Linked DNA regions of Homo sapiens: regions 1, 3 and 4 are each linked to region 2. Evidence: promoter capture Hi-C in 16 types of primary human blood cells and fetal thymus (Javierre and others, 2016). All regions are on one chromosome and are shown on one strand. Each heading gives the region's core, a stretch centred on a gene start or on the middle of the fragment in contact. The rest is flanking DNA. Distances are from core to core; before and after follow the strand shown. Region 1 holds the start of UBAC1 (UBA domain containing 1). Region 2 holds the start of NOTCH1 (notch receptor 1). Region 3 holds the start of EXD3 (exonuclease 3'-5' domain containing 3). Region 4 holds the start of TMEM203 (transmembrane protein 203).

Region 1 (2,700 bases), core at 136-2,635, 580 kb before region 2:
GCTCACAAAAGCAACTCGAAAGTACTGTATGCGAGCAGCTACTATGGTAAGAACTGAAGTTTATCCTTAGAGACCACACTCAGCTCAAGTGTAACGCACTCAACCTGTCAACACAGATACGTCGTAACTTATCACATGGAGTCGCCACTAGAAAATTGCAGCCTCCTTCAACCTAAATTCTGCCAAGCCCTCAGATCATGTCAGGTATAGACAGGAGGTCAGTCTGACACACAGACAGGCTTCTTAGCTGACCTTACTGAGTCCTTTAGAGACTCGAGAACTAGTTCCAAAAATCAGCAACCTAAGGAACTAAATACACAGGAGTATTTCAGGTGAATAAACTTTAAAAAGTGTCTCCGCGAGGAGACCCTACTCCTGGGACTTCTCTCTTGACCAATTTTACCTCTGCAGAAAAGCAGGGGCGCAGGGCCTTGTCCCGCAGCGGCACTATTTCAGGGACTCCAGCTAAAAGGCACAGTGGCCTGGGGCCAGCCAGGAAAAGAGCTCCAAGCAGCCGGCTCTGCGGGAAAGGGGAAGAGGAAGGAGAAGGGGCCTCTTCATGAAGGAGCCTACGTTAATTCTCAGCTCTCAAAGATGCTGCTGAAAAAAAACCTCACCCCAACAGCAAAAAGGTACAACTGCCGGAAAGTCCCGAGGCCCTGCTCCGTCGGCGACTTCACTCTCCAGGCCTCAGTTTCCCGATCTGCCCCTACCTCCCTGCGTGGCTGCAGAGTTAACTGAGAGGCTGGCGTGTACAGGGCTCGGCCGGGCGGCTGGCACGGGGCGAGCGCTTAGTGACCGGAGTCCGCCGGCCGAAAGGCCAGGCCCGGGACGAGCGTCCAGAGGTGTGGGATCCGAAAGGGGGAGAGTCGGGCAAACGGGCAGGAGGCGCTGCCTCCACCCCCGGAGGAGAGGGCCTGGGAGCTGCGGACTGGGCGGCGGACCCCAGGTCGGGGCGGTTCGGGGACTGAGGCGGGGTCCGCAGTCGGAGGGGTCCGGAGCGGGTGTTGGGGGCAGGGGAGGGGGCCCGGCCTTACGTGCTTGAGGCAGCGCTCCTTGAGCTTCTCCACCGAGGTGTCCTCGGTGGCCTCCTCCAGCCACTCGGCGCCGTCGGACGCGCAGATGTGCAGCCGCAGCACCTTGCCCGCGAAGATCTTCTCCTCCTGCACGAACATCCCGCCGCCGCCGCAGGGGCCTGCGCCCGCCACCCGGGCCCCTGAAGGTCACCGGGAAGGCGGGCGGGGAGGGGGCGGGGCCAGACCGCCCGCGCGCTCCTTCGCTGGGCCGCCGCCCCGCCCCGGCTCCCGTCGGCCGGGCCGCCGTCACTCTCCGCGGCCTCAGCGGTCGCCTCGCTCCCGCCGCCGCAGCAGCCGCCGGGGGCGCGCCGTCGCGGCCGCACCGGAAGTGCGTCACGGGCGCGTCTGGCGCATGCCGGGAGATGTGGTTCTCGGACAGGCGCCTCGCTCCCGCCGCCGGGGGCGCGCTGTGGCCACCGCAAAGGAAGTGCGTCACGGGGCGCGCCCGGAGCATGCCGGGAGCTGTAGTTCTCTGGTAGCTTCGTTCCTCCCCGAGCTGCAGGCGGTTCCCACCCGGGGCACTCACCACGTGGGACCTCATGGGTTCTAAAGGTAAAATACACGCTGGATCCCAAAGAAGTAACGGGAAAAAGGAATGTAAGGCATCTCGATAATGTTTTCATATTGATTACATGTTGAAATAATATTTTGTATCTATTGAGTTAAGAAAAATATGTCATTAAAATTAATTTCACCTGTTTCTTTTAACCTTTTTAAGATAGAATTTTAAATTGCCTACATGGCTGCTGTGATATTTCTTTTGCACTGCACTGCTGTAGAACGGAGGCTCTCCAAAGAACTTGGCTTTAACAAGCCTAGGTCTTTCTAATTCACACGCAGATCAGAGAGTCACTGTTCCTGCGAAGCCTAGGTTTGCGGGGCACCCAGAGGGGAGGGAAGCCGCCCTTGGTGCAGGTGATGCCAGGCAGACTCATTTTCTGTGGGGTGTGACAAAGAGTCTTTGCTTGGCCAAACTTAAGCAGGCTCCTGAACCTTCTACATCATCTGTACACTTCCTTGTAAAATCCAGTTTTAGCGAAGAGCCTTGATAAGTGAGTTTAGCAAGAACTCCCAGCCTCAATATCAGATCACCCTGGACGTCTGGTCAGGTTCCTCGTCCCCCAGGTGCTGTCTGATATCTCCAGCCTCTCTTCAGCAAGAACCCTGTCAGGTCGGTTTAGCCAGAACCGCCCACATCCCTGATGTTTTCTCCTATTAATTTTCCATTCACTGACCCCACCCACTTGCCCTTGCTGTATTGGGAGTTGAGCCTGACCTCTCTCCCCACTGCAAGCCCCCTTGGCAGTGGTCTCTGTACCTAGCTCAACAGTCCTGGATAACGTCTTACTTACCATGCTCCTAAATATGAATTTTGTAGTTCAGGTTAGACCTGACACATTGACTGATCTGTACTCATTCATCCCATTCATTTAAAAAAACTTTACTGCGCAGAGATGAATAAGGCACAGTTCCCGTTCTCAGAGGTTAGCAATCTAACCGGGGAGGCTGTCTCTGCCTCCTGCCTGCAGGCTTTTATTCTGTCCACACCATTTTGCACACACATCCTCATTTTTCTCCTGTGATAATTCCAACCTCGTCCAGATTCCATGTGTCCAGTTCAGCA
Region 2 (2,700 bases), core at 201-2,700:
GGAAAATGCGACAGCTGCTCGCCCGCTACCCCGCCCGCCAACAAAGCGCCGGCCTCCGCCTCAGAATCAGAGCGGCCCATTGTGGAGTCGGGGCCGCCTCCAGGGGCACCGGGACAGCACCCTGGGGACGCGGCCCCGCCTCCGCCGACACCCAATACCTGCCTCCGCGGGCGCGCATCTCCAGGGCAGCCCCCATACACCCACAGGAGGGGGATGAAGGTCCCCCATTCGGAAGGAATTCGACCCCATCTCGAGAAGGGATCAATTACTCAAGCCCCTCCCTCCCCATCTTACCGGGGCTGAGAAACGGGGGAGGGGGGTGTGACACAGAGCCGCACTTTCTGGAAGAGGACAGATAATTCTCGCCTCCAACTCTCGGAGAAAGAGTGGATTAATCACTCGATTCCCCAGAGACCCCGCTCGCTGTGCGGCGGGGAGAAATGTAAGAGCCCCCCACCCGCGTCCCGCTCTCCGCCCCCAAGCTTTCCAAACTTCAACTCCGCAAAGCAAAAGGAAAGTTCAGTCCCCCCGGGCGCGGCGGCTTCTTACGCAACCCCTCCCCCAAACTGAGAGCCGGGCTGGGGGGCACCGGCGGGCGGGGCGACCGGGAGCCCGGGGACCCAGCCCGGCCGCGCGGGTCAGTGAAGGCGAACGCGGCGCCGCAGAGCCCACACTCCGCGCCCCAACATCCGCCCCGGCGTGGGCCAGAGGCGAAGAAGAAAGAAGATAAATGGCCCGGAGAAGCAACAGGAAACCAAAACCGACTCTATTCAAATCGAAAAATAGTAGGCAGCCCGCCCGCCCGGCCGACCGGCGGCAAGCCCCACGCGCGGCGGGTGAAGGGCGGGCCCGGAGTAGGGCCTCCGGGGCCCCAGCACCCCACACCGGCCTCCTAACTCGGCTCCAGGCACGGGCGGCGCGAGTCCGCCTCCACGGGGGGATCGAGGGGGAAGGTCGGTCCTCCCTGATCCCGGGACTCCAGAACCCCACGCCCCGGGCCGCCCGCTTTTCCCTCTCCATGCTGGCCTCCCCGCCGCCCGCTCCCAGCCGTGGGGCGCGCGCGCCGGGCGCCGCCAAAGTTTCCAAAGGGCGCGGAAAGTGGGGGCTCGCGGGTGGGTGGGCGCCTACCTCGTGCGGCGAGCGCGGGCAGCAGCGCCAGGCAGAGCAGGGGCGCCAGGAGCGGCGGCATGCCTCCCCACCGGCTGCCCTCTGCGCCCGGGCGGCGGCCTCCTGCGCTGGCCGGCGGGGCTGGGACGCACACGCGCGGCGTACGGTCCCGGGGCGGCGGCGGACGGTCCCGCCCTCTCTTCCCCGGCTGGCTGGCGGCGCTGTGCTCTCGCAGGCCCCCGGGCCCGGCTCCGCGCCCGGCTCGTTCCTTCGCTGCGCTCGCGCCCGCGCCCGCGCCCCGCGCCCCGCGCCCTTGCGCTCCCTCCCGCGGCCGAGGCACTAGTGAGGCTCAGAGTCGAGGTGCGCTCCGCCCCCGCCGGCCCCGCCCCGCCCGGCCCCACCCCCGCCGGTCCCCCCGCCCCCTCCGCGGCCACCTCCTCCCGCACGCCCCGTCCGCCTTTGCGCCTCCCCGAGCTGAGCCGCGCGTCCCGAGCCCAGCCTCTCCGGGGAGGAGGGACCCGGCGGCGCGGCGTGGGTCGGGAGCGGGCGCCTGGGACTACTTCTCGTTTGAAAGTTTTCAGAGGCCAAAAGTTTGAGCCGGGGCTGCGGAAGGATCCGGCTCTGGCGGTTGCCGCGCTCGGCGACAACTGGCGACTGAAATTTGCATGTGAATAAGCGGAGGAGCCCGGGGCGGAATGGGGAGGGCGAGGCCGCGGACAGCCGTGTGCACCGTGCGCTGGGCCGGGCGGGGAGCAGCTGAGGCCACGTTGGGGGACCCCGGGCCCGGGGCAGGGCTCTGGGAGAGTGGCCTAGCCGTGTGTGCGCCCCTAGCCCAGCGGCTTCACTCCCTCCCGAGGGCCCCGTGGCCGCGGCTTTAGGCGTCCAGAGGATCGATCGCCGCCAGACATCCCTGGCCGTGATTGCCCGAGCACTTGACCGCGAGGGATGGGGGCGCCGCGGCCTCTGGGCAGGGGACTCCGGGCGCCCCGAGGGAGCAGCCGGGACCAGTGCCTCGCGGACGGATTGTGCCCCGCTCCCCCAAGGGGGACCCGCGTCGACACGCTCCTCGGTCACCGTCCTCCTCCTGCCCGGGCGCCGCCTGCCTAAGGTGGCCCCAGAAAGCACAAACGGGTCGGGCGGATCTGCCGCTGGCGCCGGCGCAGCCCTTCCCACGTGCTCCTTCCGGCTGATTTATTTCTCCACCACGATGCCAGGCACGGGCACCCTGTGCCAAGCCTGGTTAAGCGCCAGGAGTCCAAAATGCCTGCCATAGTCCCTGCGCAAAGTTCACGGCCTCGTGCCAGGGACAGACAGCGCCCCCTCCCCACCCCAACACAGGGTGGTGAGTGCGATGGCAGAAGGCGCGTGTCCCGGCGCCCCTCCTGGAGTAGGAGGGCTAAGCCTGCCCTGCGGGGAGACCGAAAGGCTGGGAGGGACCTAGGACTGTGGGGGCCTGGGGGGAGGGCTGCAGAAACCCCAGAGCATGGTGGCAGAGGCAGGCACAGAAAGCAGGACAAATCTCACACCTGACCCCAGCAAGCCTTTCCTGGCACACCTCTTGCCAAATGCTGAGCACTCTGGAAACAGCCAGTG
Region 3 (2,700 bases), core at 190-2,689, 880 kb after region 2:
AGGTACTCAGGAGGCTAAGACAAGAGGATCATTTAAGCCCAAGAGTTCAAGGCTGCGATGAGTGGGAATCGTGCCTCTGCACTCCAGCATGGGTGACAGAGCAAGACCCCATTTCTAAGTAAACAAATAAATAAAAAGAAAGAAGAACATGGATTTTAGTTTCTTCATGTTTTTAGTTGTCTCCCTAATGGAACAGGTTTGTTTTTTTCATCCTGGCATACAAATTGGTTATAGTCCTATGTGTTACTTCTGAGAAAATTAAAATTAATGGTGTTTCTAAAAACTAGAGATGATTCAACAGGTGACAGCAGTTGTATAAATTAATGACTTCACTGAGACCTCATGTTTGCCACCCTGTAATGCCATTCCAATTCAGTTTGTGGTGTTCTTAAAAAAAAAAAAAAAAAAAAAACTCCCTGAAATGTCTCCTCCTTCCCTGCTTGGCATGGGACAGGACTATGTGGGAATGAGCCTTCCCAGCAAGAGGGGACACTCTGACCCTCAGATTTTGATAATCAATGCTTTCAAGAAGAAAGATTTTGATCAAAAGGGGGGCAAATGAGAAAGAAAAAAATCATTTATCTGAGGAATGTAAAGCCCTTTTAAACTGTGGGCCCAGAAAGCTTGATGTTAAGTGCCAGAAAGCATTTCAAATGAAACCGCAGCCCCTCACTACCCCTCGAGCCAAGTAACTATCCACTGATGACACCAAGCCGTGGTCAATCGCGAACCAATGCCATTTCTACAAGCCAGTGAGCTCCTGGGCAACGTTCGAAACCACCTGCTCTCCGATGGGCTCTGTTTTCTTTAAAAACCTGAGCCTCTGTTTTGTTCTCCGTTGCACCTGGTGACCCAGGCCGCCCTCGACCTCTGTGCCTGAATAAACCCACCGGGCACCACATTCTGACCCTTTTAATTATTTTAGGTTGACAACTAATACAGGACTCAGCGCCGGTGGACAGGAAGCCAGGGCCCCTGCAGGGAGGCGCCCGTCCCTTCTCCCGGGGAGGGCAGGGCGGGCGCGCGCGCGTCCCACCGGGAGCGCCTCCTCCTCGGCGAGGGAGCGAAGGGCCTCCGGGTCCTGTGATGTCCGTGCTCGGAAGGCGCGGAGGAGGGCAGGCCCTGCGGGACAGGGCGGCGGGGTCGCCGGGGTCGGCTCAGCTCCCCGCGGCGTCCGGCTGCTCGGCGGCCTCCGGAGCGGGGCCCTGCGGGAGAACGCACCTTCCCCGCCCCATCGGGGCCTCAGTTTCCCCACCCCGGGAGAGCCGGCGGCCCGCCCCCGGCTCACTCCCAGCTACGGCCCTCACCTCAGGACGCGCACCCGGCCCGGCCCCGCTCTGCCCCCGGCGCCCAGACCGCCCACCTGGCCCGCGCGGCCCGGGGTCGCTCACCTGCGGGGCCGGGACCGCCCCACACCGTCCACGCCCGGCGCGGAACCTTGGCCCGACCGCAGCCGCTGGCCCGGAGGGCTTTATCCGGCGCACCAAGGCCAGCGCGGGCGGGGCGAGGAAGCCGGGCGCACAAAGCTCCCGGCGGAAGTCCGGCCGGGGCGGGGGCCGAATGGGAGGTGGGCGAGGCCTGAGGGTCTGGAGTGGGCGTAGCCGTTTCTGGCGGGGGCGTGGCCTTACCGGGGAGGGGCGGGCGCCTGCCGCCAGGGGGCGCCGCGGGGCAGCGGGGTTGCACCTGGCGCTTGGCGCCCGCACCTCTGCCCGCCTCGGAGACCCCGCAGCCCCGCGCCGCCGCCTGGCCCCGGCCCCGGCCCCTCCGCGGGATCCTGGCCCCTCCTCGAGCGCCGCCACCGGCCGCCATGGCCTCTCTGGGGGACCTGGTGCGCGCCTGGCACCTGGGCGCGCAGGCTGTGGATCGTGGGGACTGGGCCCGCGCCTTGCACCTCTTCTCGGGCGTCCCGGCGCCGCCCGCCAGGCTGTGCTTCAACGCGGGCTGCGTGCACCTGCTGGCCGGGGACCCCGAGGCCGCGCTGCGGGTGAGCGGGGCGTGGGGAGGCCGGTGCGGGCGACGCCTCCGCCTCGAGCCCCTGGGGAGGGCCCAGCGCCCCTCCCCGACCGTCACGGGGTCGCCCTGCCGCCCCCGACCCAGCGAACGCCCCGGCAGGTGGGAGCCGAGCAGGGGGGCCGCACCTGAGCTAAGCGAGGCCGCGCTGGGGGGCGCGGCGGTCACCGGGAGAGGCCGGGGCCCGAGGGTGACTCACACCGGGAAGGGGGAAGCTGCTGGGCTGGGTCAGGCCCGAGGGACCGCCCTGCCCTAAGGGGAAAGCGTTGCGCCTGTGGTCATGGCCGGGAGACCGGGTCAGTCTCCTCCTCAGAGCCCTCAGCCCTCCCCCAGCCCACTCCCCGAAACAGCCAGGAGTCCAGGGTGCCAGGGTGCAGCGGCCGAGGCCCTGCACGGAGCCCGGTGCCCTTCTCGTGCCCCCTCGCGTTCCGGGGCCGCCTGTTCCTGCGCATCCCAAACGCCAGCGCTGCCCACCCCCGCTCAGTCCCAAGCACCCCGCAGAAGCAGGCAGGTGCCCACGGTTACTGAAGGCTCGGTGACAGCAGTGATTTAAAGGAGAGGGAACTGCGCGCTGTGGGAGGGTCTCCACGCCCCTGACTGGCAAAATATCCCCCTTGGAGGAGACTGGGCAAAGCGCATGAGACCCCCCTCTCTTGTGTCTTAAAGCTGCGTACAAATTTACAATCACCT
Region 4 (2,740 bases), core at 122-2,621, 660 kb after region 2:
CAGGTGTGCTAAGAGTGCCAGCCCAAGGTGGTCAAAAGTCCACAAAACTGCAGTCTTTGCTGGGATAGTAAGCCAAGCAGTGCCTGGACAGCAGAGTTCTTTTCTTGGGCAACAGATAACCAGACAGGACTCTAATCGTGCTCTTATTCAACATTCTTCTGTCTCTGCCTAGACTGGAATAAAAAGCCAATCTCTCTCGTGGCACAGGGAAGGAGATACAAGCTCGTTTACATGTGATAGATCTAACAAAGGCATCTACCGAAGTCTGGTCTGGATAGACGGCACAGGGAGCTCTTAGGTCAGCGCTGCTGGTTGGAGGACATTCCTGAGTCCAGCTTTGCAGCCTTTGTGCAACAGTACTTTCCCAGGATCCACAGGAAATACTCAGAGTCCACCTGGACATTTTACTTATATTCAGTTTCCAAGTGTCAGAGGGGTTCAGGACTGTCTGGCCTGGGGGGCCTCCTCATGACCTCAATTCAGGATTATCTACTCAAAGCATTAAACAAAAGGAAATACATTTTCAGGATGAAGGCTGCTCTTTTAAGCCCTGCTGAAGAAACCATTTCAAACAGGATTGGAATAGGGAAACCCGGCACTCAGCTCGGCGCAAGCCGGCGGTGCCTTCAGACTAGAGAGCCTCTCCTCCGGTGCGCTGCAAGTAGGGCCTCGGCTCGAGGTCAACATTCTAGTTGTCCAGCGCTCCCTCTCCGGCACCTCGGTGAGGCTAGTTGACCCGACAGGCGCGGATCATGAGCAGCTGCAGGAGAATGAAGAGCGGGGACGTAATGAGGCCGAACCAGAGCTCCCGAGTCTGCTCCGCCAGCTTCTGGCACAACAGCATCTCGAAGACGAACTTGAGACTCAGGACCGTAAGTACCCAGAAAAGGCGGAGCACCGCCAGCCGCTTCTCTCCATCCTGGAAGAGGCGCACGGACACGATGGTGGTGAAGTAGGTGCTGAGCCCGTCAGCGGCGAAGAAAGGCACGAACACGTTCCACCAGGAGAGGCCCGGGACCAGGCCATCCACACGCAGTGCCAGCAGCACAGAGAACACCAACAGGGCCAGCAGGTGCACGAAGATCTCGAAGGTGGCGAAGCCTAGCCACTGCACCAGCTCCCGGAGCGAGAAGAGCATCGCGCCCGTTGAGCGCGGGCCGGGGCCCGGCCGAGCGTGCCACCCGCGGGGCTGCGTCTCCTCTCCCCGTGGCCCTCGCCCGCGCCTGCCGCCGCTGCTGCGAGCGAGAGGCAGCGAGCGGCCCCGCCAGCCCCAGCCCTCGGCCCTGATGCGCCGGCAATCCCCCGGCCCCGACCCGGGACTCAACCCTGGCCGCCCGTGAACGCCCGCCTCGATCGGACGCCATGCCCCCACAGGGCGCGTCCCTAGTGCGTCACTTCCGGTCGACGGCGGAAGGCGGAAGGCGGAGCGGTCCCTGCAACCCGGCCGGCGGGAACTGCCTTCTAGTTTTTAGTCTCAGACCAGACCACCGGGCGCACCCCGATGCCGAGCCCGCAGCTTCTGGTGCTCTTCGGCAGCCAGACAGGCACGGCTCAGGATGTGTCGGAGAGACTGGGTCGCGAGGCCCGGCGCCGGCGGCTTGGCTGCCGGGTGCAGGCCCTGGACTCCTACCCGGTGGTGAGGGCTCGCTAGGGCCTCGGCGTGGGGGACGAGCAGGCCTGGCGTGCCCGCCTCGCGGGGTCATCGACCCAAAAGGCGTCGCATTTTCTCTGAGAGCGGGTCTTTCCCTTATGGCGGATTTAGGGAAGGAGGTTTGGGAAGGGGAGTTCAGTTTAGCACCTGGAGGAGGTTGGAACCTGAAAGAGAAGACGGTCTGGCTGCTCACATAAATCCCTCTGCCCTGTCAGCCTGAGTAAAGGAGAAGGGGGTCAAGTTTTGGGAAGGACGCCCGGTCCTTACAGCCGGAGGTCTTACGTGTGTGTGTCTTTTTGTTGAGGTGAATCTGATTAACGAGCCCCTGGTGATATTTGTTTGTGCAACTACAGGCCAAGGAGACCCCCCTGACAACATGAAGGTAAGGCTGGCCTGATGTGGCTCCTCAGATCCCTGCCCTCGACCCTCACCCCGTTTTCATTGCCTGGCGTCTAGGTGCAGTAAATAGCTCTCCTTTATCTCATGCACCTTCAGAGGTGGATTTGAGAGAACGTCCGTGAGTGGGGCTGGGGGCTCCGGTTGCCCTCTCTAATAAACTCGTCGTAGCCACCAAATAGCCTTATTATCCGTTTTAACCTTTCTTATTTTTCCAGGGCTATCTATATGTGCATCTAGTCTGGGTCTTGTGTGTATTTCTAGACTGTATGACCCTCAGGGAACGTTGCTGAATTCTCTGACCATCTTTTAAGCACATATTCTATTCTTGGCACAGTCTGGTGCTGGGGATCCAGCTGTGAACCCAGCAGCCATATTTCCATCCTGGCAGAGTTCACACTGTAGCAGAAGCAGCTAACGGGCAATGACAGTGCCAGCAAACACCTGCTGCTGGGGAAAGTAGCATATGTCACAGGAGCACTGATAAGGGGCATCGAGCCTTATCTCACCCAACCTTGGGGCCCAGGCAGAGGTTTCTGGAAGAAAAGAGTGTAAGCTGAGTCACGGAAGGATGCGTGAGGGCTAGTCAGGCACCGAGGAAGAAGGAGCAGTCAGCGCAGAGGAAAAAGATGATTTGGTTTGTGTGAAAAGTGGAAAGCAGCTCAGGGTGGCCAAGCTGAGGAGTACACTGGG

Evidence for each region. The method cuts DNA at HindIII sites, captures the fragments that hold promoters and counts their contacts. A CHiCAGO score of 5 or more calls a contact.
Region 1: the fragment with the promoter of UBAC1 here is called in contact with the fragment with the promoter of NOTCH1 in region 2 in 1 of 17 cell types (naive B cells); the score reaches 5.2 in naive B cells.
Region 3: the fragment with the promoter of EXD3 here is called in contact with the fragment with the promoter of NOTCH1 in region 2 in 4 of 17 cell types (naive CD8 T cells, non-activated CD4 T cells, total CD4 T cells and 1 more); the score reaches 9.2 in naive CD8 T cells.
Region 4: a contact is called between the fragment with the promoter of TMEM203 here and the fragment with the promoter of NOTCH1 in region 2, in 1 of 17 cell types (activated CD4 T cells). The highest score is 5.3, in activated CD4 T cells.

The regions. Positions count from the first base shown.
Region 1 is chr9:135,959,988-135,962,687 of GRCh38, forward strand. UBAC1 (UBA domain containing 1) reads right to left here and starts at 1,386. Exons shown (of 10, transcript NM_016172.3): 1 at 1,038-1,386. The coding sequence starts at 1,175. RefSeq lists silencers at 996-1,115, 1,126-1,535 and an enhancer at 1,006-1,506. The HindIII fragment of the contact is 10,703 bases long and covers 1-2,700 here.
Region 2 is chr9:136,544,598-136,547,297 of GRCh38, forward strand. It overlaps NOTCH1 (notch receptor 1), which reads right to left and starts at 1,451. Exons shown (of 34, transcript NM_017617.5): 1 at 1,129-1,451. The coding sequence starts at 1,189. It overlaps MIR4674 (microRNA 4674), which reads right to left and starts at 1,662; the gene lies at 1,576-1,662. RefSeq lists enhancers at 286-335, 2,308-2,700 and silencers at 566-615, 836-1,095, 1,116-1,675, 2,016-2,115. The HindIII fragment of the contact is 3,030 bases long and covers 481-2,700 here.
Region 3 is chr9:137,421,723-137,424,422 of GRCh38, forward strand. EXD3 (exonuclease 3'-5' domain containing 3) reads right to left here and starts at 1,440. Exons shown (of 22, transcript NM_017820.5): 1 at 1,392-1,440. It overlaps NOXA1 (NADPH oxidase activator 1), which reads left to right and starts at 1,671. Exons shown (of 14, transcript NM_001256067.2): 1 at 1,671-1,984. The coding sequence starts at 1,808. RefSeq lists silencers at 1,032-1,171, 1,182-1,321, 1,342-1,901. The HindIII fragment of the contact is 6,751 bases long and covers 622-2,700 here.
Region 4 is chr9:137,204,277-137,207,016 of GRCh38, forward strand. TMEM203 (transmembrane protein 203) reads right to left here and starts at 1,372. Exons shown (of 1, transcript NM_053045.2): 1 at 1-1,372. The coding sequence starts at 1,138. The coding sequence ends at 728. It overlaps NDOR1 (NADPH dependent diflavin oxidoreductase 1), which reads left to right and starts at 1,424. Exons shown (of 14, transcript NM_014434.4): 1 at 1,424-1,636; 2 at 1,956-2,033. The coding sequence starts at 1,502. RefSeq lists a silencer at 1,128-1,387. The HindIII fragment of the contact is 6,239 bases long and covers 1-2,740 here.